2 separate regions of the Homo sapiens genome follow, and region 1 is linked to region 2. The links are contacts of gene promoters, found by promoter capture Hi-C in blood cells and fetal thymus (Javierre and others, 2016). All regions are on one chromosome and are shown on one strand. Each heading gives the region's core, a stretch centred on a gene start or on the middle of the fragment in contact. The rest is flanking DNA. Distances are from core to core; before and after follow the strand shown.

The links. Contacts are between HindIII fragments. The CHiCAGO score rates a contact against its expected background, and 5 or more counts as called.
Region 1: a fragment that was not itself captured here is called in contact with the fragment with the promoter of SLC2A4 in region 2 in 2 of 17 cell types (neutrophils and activated CD4 T cells); the score reaches 5.6 in neutrophils.

Annotation. Positions count from the first base shown.
Region 1 is chr17:7,674,776-7,677,475 of GRCh38, forward strand. It overlaps TP53 (tumor protein p53), which reads right to left. Exons shown (of 11, transcript NM_000546.6): 2 at 1,746-1,847; 3 at 1,607-1,628; 4 at 1,219-1,497; 5 at 278-461; 6 at 84-196. The coding sequence starts at 1,819. Among named protein-coding and RNA genes, the nearest start is that of TP53, 11 kb to the right of the region's middle. RefSeq lists an enhancer at 2,194-2,700. The HindIII fragment of the contact is 2,678 bases long and covers 1-2,589 here.
Region 2 is chr17:7,280,468-7,283,167 of GRCh38, forward strand. SLC2A4 (solute carrier family 2 member 4) reads left to right here and starts at 1,251. Exons shown (of 11, transcript NM_001042.3): 1 at 1,251-1,500. The coding sequence starts at 1,468. RefSeq lists a silencer at 1,215-1,364 and an enhancer at 1,497-2,484. The HindIII fragment of the contact is 20,977 bases long and covers 1-2,700 here.

The sequences.
Region 1 (2,700 bases), core at 1-2,500, 390 kb after region 2:
AAAGCCCCCCTACTGCTCACCTGGAGGGCCACTGACAACCACCCTTAACCCCTCCTCCCAGAGACCCCAGTTGCAAACCAGACCTCAGGCGGCTCATAGGGCACCACCACACTATGTCGAAAAGTGTTTCTGTCATCCAAATACTCCACACGCAAATTTCCTTCCACTCGGATAAGATGCTGAGGAGGGGCCAGACCTAAGAGCAATCAGTGAGGAATCAGAGGCCTGGGGACCCTGGGCAACCAGCCCTGTCGTCTCTCCAGCCCCAGCTGCTCACCATCGCTATCTGAGCAGCGCTCATGGTGGGGGCAGCGCCTCACAACCTCCGTCATGTGCTGTGACTGCTTGTAGATGGCCATGGCGCGGACGCGGGTGCCGGGCGGGGGTGTGGAATCAACCCACAGCTGCACAGGGCAGGTCTTGGCCAGTTGGCAAAACATCTTGTTGAGGGCAGGGGAGTACTGTAGGAAGAGGAAGGAGACAGAGTTGAAAGTCAGGGCACAAGTGAACAGATAAAGCAACTGGAAGACGGCAGCAAAGAAACAAACATGCGTAAGCACCTCCTGCAACCCACTAGCGAGCTAGAGAGAGTTGGCGTCTACACCTCAGGAGCTTTTCTTTTTTTTTTTTTTTTTTGAGATAGGGTCTTGCTCTGTCACTCAGGCTGGAGCACAGTGGTGTGATCACAGCTCACTGCAGCCTCCATCTCCTGGCCTCAAGTGATCTTCCCACCTCAGCCTCCTAAGTGGCTGGGACTATAGGTGTGCACCACCATGCCTGGCTAATTTTTTGTATTTTTTTGTAGAGACGAGGTTTCATCATGTTACCCAGGCTGGTCTTGAACTCCTGGGCTCAGGTGATCTGCCTGCCTTGGCCTCTTTGAGAGTGCTGGGATTGCAGGTGTGAGCCACCAAGCCTGGTCAGGAGCTTATTTTCAAAAGCCAAGGAATACACGTGGATGAAGAAAAAGAAAAGTTCTGCATCCCCAGGAGAGATGCTGAGGGTGTGATGGGATGGATAAAAGCCCAAATTCAAGGGGGGAATATTCAACTTTGGGACAGGAGTCAGAGATCACACATTAAGTGGGTAAACTATAAAAAAACACTGACAGGAAGCCAAAGGGTGAAGAGGAATCCCAAAGTTCCAAACAAAAGAAATGCAGGGGGATACGGCCAGGCATTGAAGTCTCATGGAAGCCAGCCCCTCAGGGCAACTGACCGTGCAAGTCACAGACTTGGCTGTCCCAGAATGCAAGAAGCCCAGACGGAAACCGTAGCTGCCCTGGTAGGTTTTCTGGGAAGGGACAGAAGATGACAGGGGCCAGGAGGGGGCTGGTGCAGGGGCCGCCGGTGTAGGAGCTGCTGGTGCAGGGGCCACGGGGGGAGCAGCCTCTGGCATTCTGGGAGCTTCATCTGGACCTGGGTCTTCAGTGAACCATTGTTCAATATCGTCCGGGGACAGCATCAAATCATCCATTGCTTGGGACGGCAAGGGGGACTGTAGATGGGTGAAAAGAGCAGTCAGAGGACCAGGTCCTCAGCCCCCCAGCCCCCCAGCCCTCCAGGTCCCCAGCCCTCCAGGTCCCCAGCCCAACCCTTGTCCTTACCAGAACGTTGTTTTCAGGAAGTCTGAAAGACAAGAGCAGAAAGTCAGTCCCATGGAATTTTCGCTTCCCACAGGTCTCTGCTAGGGGGCTGGGGTTGGGGTGGGGGTGGTGGGCCTGCCCTTCCAATGGATCCACTCACAGTTTCCATAGGTCTGAAAATGTTTCCTGACTCAGAGGGGGCTCGACGCTAGGATCTGACTGCGGCTCCTCCATGGCAGTGACCCGGAAGGCAGTCTGGCTGCTGCAAGAGGAAAAGTGGGGATCCAGCATGAGACACTTCCAACCCTGGGTCACCTGGGCCTGCAGAGAAGGAACCCCCTCCCCCAACACCATGCCAGTGTCTGAGACAGCTCGGCTTCCTGTGGAGCAGGAAAAGAATGGCTGCTTCACATTCTCTCTTCCAATGTTTCACCACAACCCAAGCACTCCTGCCCCACCCCTCACCAGCCATGCACTTCTTTGAGGAAAAGACAATCAGAGAGGGACTTCCAACCTTCCCACCACTAAATCCCCAAGACTTCCTAAATGTGCACCCTATTCCCAACTCCCTTCCTGTATTTTTTTTTTTTTTTTGAGATGGAGTCTCTCTCTGTCACCTAGGCTGGAGCACAGTGGCATGATCTCAGCTCACTGCAACCTCTACCTTCCGGGTTCAAGCCATTCTCCTGCCTCAGTCTCCCGAGTAGCTGGGATTACAGGCGAGTACCACCACACCCAGCTAATTTTTGTATTTTTAGTAGAGACAGGGCTTTGCATGTTGGCCAGGCTGGTCTCGAACTCCTTACTTCAGGTGATCGGCCCGCCTCAGCCTCCTAAAGTGCCAAGATTACAGGTGTGAGCTACCGTGCCCTGCTCCCACCTCCTGTTAACAAGGATATAGTCATTCTCAGCCTGCAATCTCTGTATGGGGAAGGACACCCCCTTGGCCCCCACCCTTCCCCACCTGATACACGGCTCCATTTCTTTGATTCCTTTCACTGCAAAGCTTCTGGAAGAACAACTGTCTCACCGCTCACCTGCCCATTCTCTTCGGACACTCCTCAGCCCTGCATTACAAACCCCTCACGAATGGCCCGTCTCGGCTTCTTTAATCT
Region 2 (2,700 bases), core at 1-2,500:
AGGAGGAATCGAGCCTGACTTCTACCATAGGGGTGACTGGGCGGGTAATTCATTGAAATAAGGAAGTTAGGAGGAGGAGCAGGTTTGGACATGCTGATCACTAGAGCTGCCACATCCGGGCGGTAACGAACACCTGGATCTGCAGCTCCAGAGAAGGGCCTGGGTCAGATGTCACTGAAGCCCTATGGTGGCGGAAAGGCGAGAAATAGTGGGTTGAGATTCCAAGTGCAATCCACTGCGGCTCCTCGCTCGCCCTCCAGGTGGCAGCACAACCCTGCGCTTCCGAAGCCCGTTTTCTGAGCCAGACACTCTCCACGCTCTGGGTATTTCGGCTTCTCTCTCCCCACACGCCGACCCTAGGTCGCGCACTTTCTGCCTGGCAGAATTTGGCCGAGGATCCAAACCCGGAGCAGCCTCCAGAGAGCGTGTCGTTCACGCGGCCAGCATATGCTCAGAGACCTCAGAGGCTCAGAGACCTCAGGGCTGGTGGTGTGGTCGGTTGTGACCACTTGTCCCTCGGACCGGCTCCAGGAACCAACCTGGGGAATGTGTGTAGGGGAAGGGCGGGATAGACAGTGCCCGGAGCAGGGAGGCGCTGAAAGACAGGACCAAGCAGCCCGGCCACCAGACCCGTTGTGGGAACGGAATTTCCTGGCCCCCAGGGCCACACTCGCGTGGGAAGCATGTCGCGGACTCTTTAAGGCGTCATCTCCCTGTCTCTCCGCCCCCGCCTGGGACAGGCCGGGACGCCCGGGACCTGACATTTGGAGGCTCCCAACGTGGGAGCTAAAAATAGCAGCCCCGGGTTACTTTGGGGCATTGCTCCTCTCCCAACCCGCGCGCCGGCTCGCGAGCCGTCTCAGGCCGCTGGAGTTTCCCCGGGGCAAGTACACCTGGCCCGTCCTCTCCTCTCAGACCCCACTGTCCAGACCCGCAGAGTTTAAGATGCTTCTGCAGCCCGGGATCCTAGCTGGTGGGCGGAGTCCTAACACGTGGGTGGGCGGGGCCTTTTGTTCCAGGGACTCTTTTCTCAAAACTTCCCAGTCGGAGGCTGGCGGGAACCCGAGAGGCGTGTCTCGCCAGCCACGCGGAGGGGCGTGGCCTCATTGGCCCGCCCCACCAACTCCAGCCAAACTCTAAACCCCAGGCGGAGGGGGCGTGGCCTTCTGGGGTGTGCGGGCTCCTGGCCAATGGGTGCTGTGAAGGGCGTGGCCCGCGGGGGCAGGAGCGAGGTGGCGGGGGCTTCTCGCGTCTTTTCCCCCAGCCCCGCTCCACCAGATCCGCGGGAGCCCCACTGCTCTCCGGGTCCTTGGCTTGTGGCTGTGGGTCCCATCGGGCCCGCCCTCGCACGTCACTCCGGGACCCCCGCGGCCTCCGCAGGTTCTGCGCTCCAGGCCGGAGTCAGAGACTCCAGGATCGGTTCTTTCATCTTCGCCGCCCCTGCGCGTCCAGCTCTTCTAAGACGAGATGCCGTCGGGCTTCCAACAGATAGGCTCCGAAGTAGGATTCATCATGAGGGGGCGGGGCGGGGGGGCACGGGTCCCGCTTTTCTTGGGCTGGGGTCGCGGTTGGGGTCAGCTGGGGGTGGTTCCTGCGCAGGCGCAGGGGGTGAAGGTAGGGGGCTGGCTATTTATACCCGGCCTGGACAACCCGTGACTGTGAGATTCCAATCCTACCAAAAGGCAGAGTGGGTCTGGAGGGCCTTTCGGGGCACAGGCAGCAAGTGGATTCTGCGAGCCAGGGTTCACCCCCTTGCCTAGTAGGCGGCGCGGCGCTCCGGAATCGGGGACACCCTGCCCTCGATCCGACTCGGGAAAGCAGATCCAGGCGGGTCTTGCCCTCCGGGAGCTGTCCGTCCGTCTTCGCTCACGGGCAGTGTTTCGAGGACCGGAGGCTCTCCGTGGGCCCCCACCCCCACTCCTGGCCGCCCTCCAGGACGCTGAACTTTCCCTTGGCCCCATGGTTGGTGGAGGGGCAGAGGGGACTGTCAGCCCCCCCTCCTCCAGCTCAGGTTTCCGCTTGGAGACAGTCTGTGCCGCCAGCGAGCGGCCACCACTGCCACCGCCCCTCACACTACCTTCCTGCCCTCCTCCCCTGGGCATGGCTCTCCCAGGCAGAACCCCTGGACGGCCCTCCCTGCACGGAGGTTAGAGGGGGAGGGCAGGCCACGACGTAGATAGAGAAGGCCACCCCTAGATGACCGGGATGTCCTTTCTGGAACAGCACTTCTTGGTCCTGTTGGGGGCCTCCTGGAGCTGGCTGACAGAACCCCCAGAGGGGAGGGAAGAGGACAGTGGCTGATGATAATAATGCACGTGTTAATTTATGAAACCAGCACTGTCAAGGATATTGTTAACATGTGATGTTGATTTTCACAACACTCTCACAGATAGGTAGGCAAGGCAGGCAACATCACCCCCATCTCACAGAGGACACTCAGGTTCGGGGCAGGGAAGTGACTTGGCCAAGGTCACACAAATCTGAGCTCTTAAGGCCAAGCCTGTCTCAAGGTCACAGAAGAATTTTGAGACAAGTTCTCAAACATTTCTCTGCCTTATGGACCCAAACATCCAGTTTCTCCTTTATGCCCAGGTTGCAGTTCAGCTCCTGTTTACATTGAGATCTTTGTGCAATTCCTAATATGGCCCAGTTTCCCTCACCCAACATGTTGGGTGGAGCCCAGTATCTTCAGGCTCCAGC